3 separate regions of the Homo sapiens genome follow, and regions 1 and 3 are each linked to region 2. The links are contacts of gene promoters, found by promoter capture Hi-C in blood cells and fetal thymus (Javierre and others, 2016). All regions are on one chromosome and are shown on one strand. The core of a region is centred on a gene start or on the middle of the fragment in contact, and the rest is flanking DNA. Distances in the headings are between cores, read along the strand shown.

What was found. Contacts are between HindIII fragments. The CHiCAGO score rates a contact against its expected background, and 5 or more counts as called.
Region 1: a contact is called between the fragment with the promoter of API5 here and the fragment with the promoter of IFTAP in region 2, in 1 of 17 cell types (erythroblasts). The highest score is 5.3, in erythroblasts.
Region 3: a contact is called between a fragment that was not itself captured here and the fragment with the promoter of IFTAP in region 2, in 1 of 17 cell types (monocytes). The highest score is 5.8, in monocytes.

Annotation. Positions count from the first base shown.
Region 1 is chr11:43,310,702-43,314,667 of GRCh38, forward strand. It overlaps API5 (apoptosis inhibitor 5), which reads left to right and starts at 1,295. Exons shown (of 14, transcript NM_001142930.2): 1 at 1,295-1,495. The coding sequence starts at 1,427. RefSeq lists an enhancer at 1,048-1,823. The HindIII fragment of the contact is 11,672 bases long and covers 1,120-3,966 here.
Region 2 is chr11:36,593,252-36,597,267 of GRCh38, forward strand. IFTAP (intraflagellar transport associated protein) reads left to right here and starts at 1,251. Exons shown (of 6, transcript NM_138787.4): 1 at 1,251-1,341. RAG2 (recombination activating 2) reads right to left here. Exons shown (of 2, transcript NM_000536.4): 2 at 1-944. The coding sequence starts at 917. RefSeq lists an enhancer at 1,158-1,297. The HindIII fragment of the contact is 5,310 bases long and covers 1-2,113 here.
Region 3 is chr11:31,364,340-31,368,101 of GRCh38, forward strand. The region is part of intron 1 of DCDC1 (doublecortin domain containing 1); the gene reads right to left. Among named protein-coding and RNA genes, the nearest start is that of DCDC1, 3.5 kb to the right of the region's middle. The HindIII fragment of the contact is 1,293 bases long and covers 773-2,065 here.

The DNA of each region.
Region 1 (3,966 bases), core at 45-2,544, 6.7 Mb after region 2:
GCACACGGCTATATATATATATAATATTATTATATAAATATAATTATCTTAATATATAAATATATATTATTATCTTAATATATATAATATATATTATTATCTTAATATATATAATATATTATTATCTTAATATATATTATTATCTTAATATATAATTATATAATAATATACAATATATAATATATATTATATATATAATTGTATATATAATATAATATATAATATATATTATAATATTAATATCATAATATTATATATGATATATAAATATAATAATATATTAATATATATTAAGATAATAATATTAATATATTAATTATATAATTAATATATTATATATAATATAAGATAATTATAATATATAATTGATAATATTGATATATTAATTAATATTATATCTCAATATATAGATATATTATAATTATATTATATAATTAATGTATTAATTAATATTATTATCTTAATATATATTAATATAATATTATTATATTTATATTATATATTATATATTTATATATTAATATAATATTATTATATTTATATTATATATTATATATTTATATATTAATATATAATGTTATATATTATATAATATATAATATTATATATTAATATATAATATTATATATTATATAATATATAAAATTATTATATATTAATATATAATGTTATATATTATATAATATATAAAATATTATATATTATATCATATTATATATATAATTTCATTTAAACTTGTATCTTAGAAATTCTTATCAGTAAGCGTACGTGATTTCATTTATTTATTATTCTTTTGGATACTGGACATAATCAGGTGGCCCCAATTCTTTACACTGGCAGCAAAGATAAGCAAATTCTTCCAGCAGGCCAAATTTGACCCCGCACTTGATGAGCGTGGTGGACACAGAGGGTTTTTTAATAGCATAGGAATGTTTTTTGCTTCCCACCGGACCCACTAGCCTCTAGTGCCACCGATTAATATTACCTTCCTTGAATCAGGAGGAAACCATTTGTGACTTCTCATATGTAAGATCTTCTAAGGGCAGAAACGCAATTGTCTTTGTATTCACTTCCCCGCCCACCCACACCCCTTCCATGGAGAGCCTGCAGCCAAGCTCAAGCTTTCAAAAAGGCGTGAGCTAATTCAATCATCCTTGCCGCTTTTTTGCTCCTCCAGGCTGTAGAGGGCGACAAAAACCGCGGAGGCGCATTGGGGTGGGGGGTGTCTACTGAAGGCCGCTCCCGACGTGCGCGTCTTTACGTAGACGTCGGGGGCGCAGCCGCGCTGTGCGCGGTGACTGGCGGCTGCACTGGCGGCAGCTGGAGGTGTAATAGTGCGGGTAGTGGGTTTGGAGAAGTTCCGAGGCGGCGGTGGCGCCGGTCAGGACAAGGATAGCGGAACCGGGCCCTGGGCTTGTCGCTCACCATGCCGACAGTAGAGGAGCTTTACCGCAATTATGGCATCCTGGCCGATGCCACGGAGCAAGTGGGCCAGGTGAGTTGAGTCCCCGGGCGGCCTGCAGGGCCTGGCGCTCCGCGGCCTTTCGAAAGCGCTTCCCGCCGCACTCCCCGGGCCGAGCGGGGGCTGCGGCTTCATCCTCCCGGGGCCTCCTAGCCTCCTCAGGCCGTCTCGTCGGGGTGGGCCTCTCTGGGAGTGTAGACTCTGGTTTCACCAGGGAGACCGCGGTCCCCAGGGTTCCAGGCTTCCTTGCCTCCCTTGCCCAGCCTTTTCTCACCGTGGCGTAACCTAACTCAGCCCGTTCAGGCTCACGTTAATTCTTCTCACGGAGCTTTTCTCTACAGGATTCTCTTAAGCCTTTCTCCTTTTCGGTGGAGCTCAGTGCTTCCAAGATTAGATCGGGAGTTTTCTTCATGAGGTCAAGATGTGTTTTTTTTGGGGGGGAGGCAAAATTCTGCTACTAATTGAAGAAGAGTGTTTAGGAGACAGAAGTTTGTGAGAAACAGAAGAGGGACTCTTTGGTCCAGACTTTGATGAGAGCTCACGGTTTCATTTATTCAGTGCATTTTTTTGAGTGCCGAGCGCTGGAGATACAGATGGAAAGGTCCGCGCTCTCCCAGAATGTACAGTTAGGAGGGAGTGTAGTAAGAAAGATAGGCATTGTGAGGCCCGGCTTGGTGGCTCACGCCTGTAATCCGAGCACTTTGGGAGGCCGAGGCGGGCGGATCACGAGGTCAGGAGTTCGAGACCAGCCTGACCCACATGGTGAAACCCTGTCTCTACTAAAAATACAAAAATTAGCCGGGCGTGGTGACACGCGCTTGTAATCCTAGCTACTCAGGAGGCTGAGGTGGGAGGATTGCTTGAACCCGGGAGGCAGAGGTTGCGGTGAGCCGAGATCGCTTCACTGCACTCCAGCCTGGGAGACAAAGCAAGACCCCGTCTCAAAAAAAAAAAAAAAGGTTTTTTTTAAAAATTTATTCTTTTTAATGAAACATGTTTGAAGAAAATAAAACAGGGCTGGGCGAAGGAGAGTGTGAGTGCGCAGCTCTGAATGGAGTTGTCTGGAAGAGCTCTCTTAACGATGCTTGCCCCCGATACACAGTTTCTCAGCAGTGTTGAATTATCCATACAAGTCATTTGTTCCCTGTATGAGTTTTCAAGTACTGGAGTACATTGAACTTGATAAGTGGTTGGGTATGTGTGTTCTTGGGAAAAGAACCAGGCTCTCCTGGAGGTAACCTTGATCATTGTTTTAGAAATCCCACACCATAGCTTTTCAGCGCTTAGAACTTTGTGATTTTTCTGCTTACGCATCCCTTCTTGGAGAAAGTGGAAGATTCTAGTCTATTAACAGTCGTGGGAGTACCTTTCCCGTCCCCTTTTCTTAACATAATTCAAATAGGACTTTTCTGAGCTGAACGAAAAAAAAAAAATTTCATGTTGGAGATTTATTGTAGCTTAATCTAGAATTAAGAATATACCAGTTTGAAATAGCAAATGATTTTTTTTCCTTCATTCCCTGTCAGTAGGGAATTTCACTTTTATCAGTAAGAAATGTATACGGATGTTCTGCTGTACATGTGGATAGAGTGTGTAGGTCGGTTGTGAAGGAGGAATATTCTGTTCATTAAGAAGGTAAAAACTGCCAGGCACGGTGGCTCACGCCTGTAATCCCAATTCTTTAAGGGGCGTGGATGGGCAGATCAGTTGAGATCAGGAGTTCGAGACCAGCCTGGCCAACATGGTGAACCCCCATCTCTACTAAAAATACAAAAATTAGCCAGGCGTGGTGGCATGCGCCTGAAGTCCCAGCTATTTGGGAGGCTGAGGCAGGACAATTGCTTGAACCCGGAGGGTGGAGGTTCCTGTGAGCTGATATCGGGCCACTGCACTCCAGCCTGGGCAACAGAGCAAGACTCCATCTCAAACAAAAAATTAAAAAAAAAAAAAGATACAAACTATGTGTGGTCAATCAGTTTGAATTTGTTGTTCCTAAAAAGAACTAGTAGTGAAGATATTCTCAATCGTATAATTTATCTGTGACTTAGTTGGGTAACTTTGTAGCAAATTGTTCTACCTACGTTAGACTTTGTTGCATATCAGTAGGGGGATAGGGTGAAAGCTACAACAGTGGTTGTGTCAGGAATCCTTCTAAGAAACCTTTGAAACCGTATACATAATGCTGTCCATCCCCTACTCTAATTTTGAGAGTTGCTTGCATTTCCTTCTCATGTCATCTTTATAAAAACCAGATTGAATTGAGAGTTCTCCCCAAGGGGTCAAAATGTCTTTCACAGCAAAAATCTACTCTTTATTTAGTAAGGGTACTTTAGAGACAAGTTTGTGAAAAATGAAAAAGGATACCTTTGTCTACACTTTAATGAGGACTCCATGCTTTATTCCGTACATTTCACCTACCATGTACCACACACCCGGCTGGACACTGAAATTTAACACAATTCTCTGTAGGTTATGGGTGATCAATGCGTTCTGTATTGACAACT
Region 2 (4,016 bases), core at 1-2,500:
TCTGGGGTCTCCATCTCACGAATTTCTATCTTGTTGTCCTCTAAAGAGATGATGTTGCAGATCATTCTTTTTTGATTTTCAAGCTGATAGCCACCAACAATAACAAATTCATCATTGTTAGTTTGAGTCAGGATTGCACTGGAGACAGAGATTCCTCCTGGCAAGACTGTGCAATTCACAGCTGGGCTACCCAGGGGAAGATCAACCCTTATTCTGTACAGGTTGGCAGGCCGGATATTATTGGCAAGTGAATGTCCTCCTAAAATATAGATGGTGTCATTTTTGGCAATAGAGACATGAAAAGATAGCCCATCCTGAAGTTCTGGAAGAATGTATGATGTAGCACACCCAAATTCAAAATCCACCAGGAAAACACAGGGCAGGCAGTCAGCTACACTATTCCATTTTTCTGTGGTTCTGTGGGTAGAAGGCATGTATGAGCGTCCTCCAAAGAGAACACCCATACTTTTCCCTCGGCTGTACACCACATTAATGGAATGACCATATCTGGCTTCAGGAACATCTCCTACCAAGTCTTTCTCTGTGCAGCGAAAAGTAACCTTTTTGTTGTTCTTGCAAACAATAGACATGACATAAATCTTATCTGAAACCTCATTGTTTGGTGTTTTCCCTCCATGGATGATGTATTGATGCTTTTCAGACTCCAAGCTGCCTTTGAATGTGCAAGTGGCTGGGTAGCGAAGAGGAGGGAGGTAGCAGGAATCCTTAGAGAAAATTGTAGGCTTCAGTTTGACATGGTTATGCTTTACATCCAGATGGAAAACTCCAGTGGGGCAGGATCTTTTGGGCCAGCCTTTTTGTCCAAAGAAGAAAACTTGTCCATCAAAATTCATCAGTGAGAAGCCTGGCTGAATTAAGGCTATGTTATTACTGACTGTTACCATCTGCAGAGACATAGTTTCTGATGGTACGTAGATTTTTGTCTGAAAGAATTATAAAATAAAATGACTTAGAGATCGCTTCATATAATCATCGTATTTAGATTCCTTCACATGTGAATAGCATTTTTTTAAGTCCTCCCACACGCTTGCAGTGGGACTGAATGAGGAAAATCCAAGGAGTTAGGTCAGTAAAGAGCCACAGAACCTTTACTGCCATTCCATCCAAGGAGCTGGGACATGTTTTAGCCACGGACTATATGCTCCCTAGGATTTCTGGGAATTGTAGTCCTTTTCCGTAAAGAGTCACCATGCGTCAGCTGAAAGAACCACATTTCCCAAGAATCCGTTCTCTCTGGGATGTGTAGCTTTGGAAATCTGTCTTTGTTGCTCTGGGAGAGGGGACTCCTGGAATGTGTCTGTGAATAAAGACTAGCCGAAGGTGCGAAGTGACTAGACGGGAGCAAAGGAGGAAAACTAGGGAATGGGAGGTGAGAGTGGCTGACACCGACCCAACGTCCGGGTTGCCGGAAGGCTGCAGCGCCCGGAGCGGTGTCGGGCAAACCGCTACCCTGGTATTGCTGGAGCCTCTCCTGGGGACTTTTGAACAGGTGACCCGATAGGAAGCACAACTGCTTCTGTTGGAGTGCGGTTACCTGGAGACCGCAGTCTGAAGGGACTCCCGGCAGAGATGTCGTTACGGTGTCCTGCCTGTCTGGATGCTTAGGAGCGCGACTCAAAACTACACCCCTGACGACCCTGGAGGTGCTTGGGGCGGGAGGTTGAAGGGGGCACCGAGGTTACAAAAGCCGTGACTGTCTTACAGAACCGAAAGATGGATCTTTGAATCCCTAGAGTGCAGGGGAGACATTGCCTGTTAAAGATGTTTACCACTTCTACATTTAGTAATAGAAATACAGTTATTAGGTTTTAACGAGTGCACTTTGAAGGTCCTTTGTTTTCTTCACTGTTTTTACTCCTGTTTTTAGGGTTCTTTTAGGGAAGCAGAGAAGGTTCCTAAACACATCTTCTTTTCATCTTCATTCTAGGAAAATAGAGTTAGTGGCTTTTTCACATCTTTCCAGTCCAAGAACTTTTGGGTAATTCTTTAATAATTCTGTAGTAAGTAAGCAGGGACTAAGCATAGAAGTGTTTGAATTATTCAGAATTTCATACTTGTGTTACAACAAAAAGAATATTTACTAGATGAAGGAAGCTTGATAAATTTCTATTTTATTATTGTTTACCTTAGAGAGTTGTGGAATACACTCCGTGTTTGCAGTGTGATGTCCTGTGCACCAAATGTTAAAGGAAACAAAACATAGCACAGATTTCTTGACTTTTAAGAGTTAATTCTTAATATGCTTCAAAAGCAGTATAAACAATGGCTGAGTGTGGACTCTGAATGCTTACTGGCTGGATTCAAATCCTGGCTCTGCCACTAACTACATGACTTTGGGCAAGTTATGTAACCTCTGTGTGCCTCAGTTTCCTCATCTGAAAACTGAGATAATAATTTTACCAACCTCATATATTGATGTCAGTTATGATTAATAGTTGAATATACGTAAAGTACTTAGAACAGGGATTTGCATATAGTAGACGATAGTTATGATTATTTTAAAATTTACCAAAAATAAGGTCTAGTGCATACGCACCTGCCAGTAATGGCAGTTGATAAGGTTGGAGAGGATGAGAAGGGGCTTTAGGATATGGGAATCAGGTCAGTGGGTATAGACAGATAAACATTTGAACTAAAAGAATTGGATAAACATATATGATGAGGGTGCTGGTAGTAGTTAATTTATTAACAGAAGATAGTTAATATTTTATTCTTCTTGTCACCCTTTGTCTAACTGGGGATAATCTTGGTATATATTCACTGGGCTGTTTTGAGAAATAAATGGGATAGCACGTGTAAATCACATAGAACAGTGCCTGGCACATAAACACTCAATAAATGTTAATTGATACTATAATTTATCTAATTTATCTTTATTCCTCCTGCAAAGATTCCTTGGACTATTTAGAATCTCTGGTCACTCTAATGAGATGGTAGTGTTTTTTTTTTGTTTTTTTTTTTTTTTGCTTTAAAGAACTTCTGTAGATCAGCTGTAATTTACTGCTAAATAATCTCTTGTAGTTATTATTTTCAGTCTACTTGGGAGACTCGTAAGGGGGTGATCTTTCAACAATTATCTGGTGGGTTATTAAAGCAGGTGAGGAAATGGTGTCTCAGAAGGATTATTATCAAAGTTATGAAAACAAGCCTGTCTCCCTCAGTTGTATATTCAGCAAACTGCCCTGCTTATAAAATAATCTAGGCAGTGTTTTATTTATATCATGGCCTACCCAAGCCTACATGAGGGAAGGCATCTGAGCAACTATGAAAAATGCTATTCATAGAAACTAAAAGGAGACATTATTGACCCTCACTTCAGAAAACTGTAGGTGATTACACTCAGCCTGAGTGATTATGATCAGAGAGTTGTCCCATTTTGGGTGGGGGGAACACCAAAGCCAAGGCCTGCTTGTTTCAAACACCTGTGATGACTGTTATTGAGATACAAGGCAAGCCATACAGTGGTAATGGATTCCAGATCCAAAGGGATTTTTCAAGAACAGTTGTTTTAAAGCAATGTTTTTATTGTCGCCTCTTGGTTTCATTTTAAGGTTGCTGTAGGAATTGTGGCTTCTCGTAAGTGAAAACATGATTATTGTAGATTACACAGAAACATTTTCTTGGGCAAGACATAAGGAGGATTGTCCATTTTTGTAGCTTAGTCTAGGCCCCTAAAGATTTTTGAAACAGGGCTTTTGACCTGTTTTCCCTTTGATGCTCTGCTTTTGGCTCATTTCATAATTTCAAGGCCCTAAAAACAGTGGTAAAGTTTCTTATTGCTAAGATGAATTACCTCCTCTTGTAACATGGTTCAAGTGTGAGTAATTAATTTTTAGATTACTCACTTTAACCAGATGATGTATGCATTTAAAGAATAAACAGGAACATTGAAAGTGTTTTCACATGATTTTGCCACATTTGGTTTTTGAAATTTTGCTTTATCAACTTGAATATATTTTTCACTGGAGTAGACCATTGTATCTCTTCCATAGTTT
Region 3 (3,762 bases), core at 169-2,668, 5.2 Mb before region 2:
GGTGATAAGAAAAAAGAGAAAAGGGCAAACAAGTGAATGGGGGAAAAAACAAGTTGGTATTTGTATGACTATTAAAGATAAATAGAAGATGGATTACAGACAATATTTTTAATAGGCTCATGGAATGATTAAAACATTAGATGTGAAGATAGGAAAACAGGAACATAAATCTCAGATAAGATAAAGACCTATAAGAGGTCTGAAAAAAGTTAGAAAGAACTGACACATAATGCTAAAAAACAAGAAAAACACAGCAACAAGTGCGGTGCCCGCAAAAAATATTTACCTCTTCCTCTTTCTCTCCTGCTTAGTGTACTGCCTTGCACAAACTCAACGAAAGTTCATCGATGATGACTATTGTCAAAATGGCAAAGCAGATAATAGACTGAGTTAAGACAACCAACAAAGGGAAAAATGAAAACCATTTCTAAAAGATGAGCTAGGATTATTCATTAGAGCTGATTCTCAATACTATCTAAAGCTTTATGTTAATCTGTCAAAAAAAAAAAAAAGAAGAAAGGAAGTTTCTTTCATCCTAGTCATTCACCTCTCCCTTCCTTCAAAACACTATTTAAAACTTAACATTTCATACATCTTCCTGGATTAGCTTCATCTTGATTCAAGGATTTTAATCATTCAAGTAATCTATTCTACGTATTAGTATACCTGCAAGTTATTAATTAATGTCACAGCACCTGGTATTTCCTCTGGCATAGTACTTCCTACAGTTATTTCAGTTCCTTTTTAAATGTCTGTTTACCCAGATAAACTAAGCTTTTGACAGGACTACAGTCAACTTTGTTTTGTGTCTCTTGTAACTAACGGAGTGTGGGGTACATAAGAGACACTCAACAAATATTTGTCGATTGAGTCAATAGGTGAATGAAGGCTGTATATATATCATTGACTTTTAAAAATCAAATAACTAGCTAGTTTTTGGTGGTTTTTCTATCTTCCCAGTAGATTATAAGTTGCTCTAGAGACAATCATTCAATTTTGGAACATAACCATCATATCCCATGGTACTTAAATACAGCTTAGTTCACTGGTATAAAAATCCTAAAATTCAGAAATAAAAATCAAGGAAATGAAGGAATAGTTGGTGATGGAACTACCAAAAGAGCCAAGTAAATATAATCCTGAATAGGAAATAATTAGCAGAAGTACACTATATGTATACATCTATATAATATAGATATAGATTTCCATTATTATCCATCAATGAGAAGCACAATTGACTAGTATGACATCAAATTAAGAATTTGTGAATGTCTGGTAGACGTTAGTTTACGGGCAGGCGTGTACCAAAGTGATAGATTTAATAACAATGTCATTTTTTCCTATCATCATGACAAAGGATCTTAAACTCCTGATGTATCTAGCTACATCTATAGCACTTGATCAATCATCTGGGAATCAAATATTTAATATACGCCTACCTTGGTTATGTTAGATGCTGATGACGCAAACTAAAGTTTTGCCTATCCTTTTAATTTATTCTGAAGTCCAACCAAATGTACAGTTCAACAAATATTTGGGTTTGATTTTATTTTTCCAATTCAATTGTTTCTTGCTGTCATTTGCTCTCTTTGGAAATTCCTAAAATACTGTTATGAATGTCCAACATTCTAATATATCAAATGTGCAACAAATATTATTAATTAATAATAACAACAATAGCTAACCTTTACTGAATACTTATTACTTTCAGGCACAACTATCTCATTTAATTCCCACAACAAATCTATGAGGGAAATACTATTATTACTCCCATATTACAGAGGAAGAAACCAAAGCAAAGAGATGAATTAAGTTCACATAGCCGTAAGAGGAAAAGCCTGGACTAAACACATATGTTCTGACTCTAGAGTTCATGCTTTTAACCATGATACTAACATAGTTTATATTTCCACTATGTAAGTTTCACATAAAATGGATAAATTGCCTTTTAAATATAAGATACTGAGAAACAAAACTATTAGAGCTATGTATCATTAGAACTCCAGAGAATGAGGCAAGATAGCTGGTTCTTAGTTTCTCTGGAGAGGTGTTCTTGCTCTCAGAAAGCTTGCAACCCAACTGGGGAATCAGAATATATTCTAAGGAAAACAATATACTGTGATATACAAAGGACTTGCTATGAAAGTTGAGGGGCGGCAGTAAGTTCTAAGGACCAGGCCATCATAAAAGGCTTGATGGAAGAGATAGGCCTTAAAGCAGGGATTACTCTGATAGGAGGAAGAAAAGAATTAGGGTGTTATAAGTAAGGAGAAGCATTTGAACACAATTATTGATGAAATGCTGTTACCAAAACACCAGGAGTTCCATCTATGTCTTGCTGCTTACCACCCAAAAAGTCAATCACTGAGACAATGATTATTGTCAAAGAAGAAGGCTTTAATCAGATGCTGCAGCCAAGGAGATGGGACATCAGTGTCAAATTCACCTTCCTCACTGACTAAAATTAGGGGTTTATATAACAGGGAAGAAATGTTAACTACGTATGAGAAAACAGGAACTAAGGAAGGGTAAGGAAACAATAACGAAGAATGAGGGGTCTGGCATATCACTGTCTAGATGCAGTAATCTGGTGAGTTTCAGCTCTTTGATACTTGTTGAGAGGTCTGGGCATCCTTTCTTGAGGAAGGAACTGAGATAAAGATCAACAAAATGTGGCTGGGCGCAGTGGCGCATGCCTGTAATCTCAGCACTTTGGGAGGCTGAGGCAGGCAGATTGCTTGAGCTCAAGAGTTCCAGACCAGCCTGGCCAACATGGTGAAACTCCATCTCTACAAAAAAAAATACAAACATTAGCCAGGCATAGTGGCATGCACCTGTGGTCCCAACTACTTGGGAATCTGAGGTGGGCAGATGACTTGAGCCTGGGAGGTAGAGGCTGCAGTGAGCTGAGATCATGCCACTGCACTCCAGACTGGACACCAGGGCAAGACTCTGTCTCAAACAAGCAAACAAAAAGATAAAACAAATGCAAGTTTCAAGCTTTCAGAAAAGAAGTGTCCATTTCTATGTTTATTAATTTAAAAAACCCCAATAAACAAAACTAAACAAACAAACAAAACCCTGTCTATGGGACTGTTGGGTTGATTTCAGTACCATGAAAAGATCCAATTGTTTAAATGTTTAATGTATGGAGATAATAGGGGAGGTTGGAAAAGTAAGGATCATATTGAAGAGGTAACTTGAATGCTAGGTTAAGGAGTTAGGACTTTATTCTCTAGACCTGCCCTGCTGGATACAGTAGCCACTAGTCACATGTGGCTACTGAGCATTTGAAATGTGCTAGTTCAAATTGAGGTGTGTTCGGGCACAATACATACCAGCTTTTGAAGACTTAGTAGGAGAAAAGAATGTAAAGTATCGCCTTAATAATTTTTAGATTAATTAATTTTGTAGCTTGCACTTACGGCTTACATTATATTTCTATTGGAAAGTACTGCTCTATAAAATGAAAAATGAAGGAAGCTTAATGATCAGAAATTTATGTAAAAATTGTTTTAAGAAGTTTATTTTGGTATAAGCAGAGTGTAAGACAACTGTTCTCATTCAGTAAGCCAATGGCAAGTAAAGAAAAAAACAAGGTTCTAGTGAAGAAATGGGACTGCTATAATTTAAAAGATATTTAAGAGACAGAACAGCTAAATGGAAAGTGTACATTTTGTCTGATTCTGAGTCAAGCAAACCAACCAGAAAAAGACATTTTCAATTAACCGTGGAAATGTAAGTAAGGTCTAGATATTATGT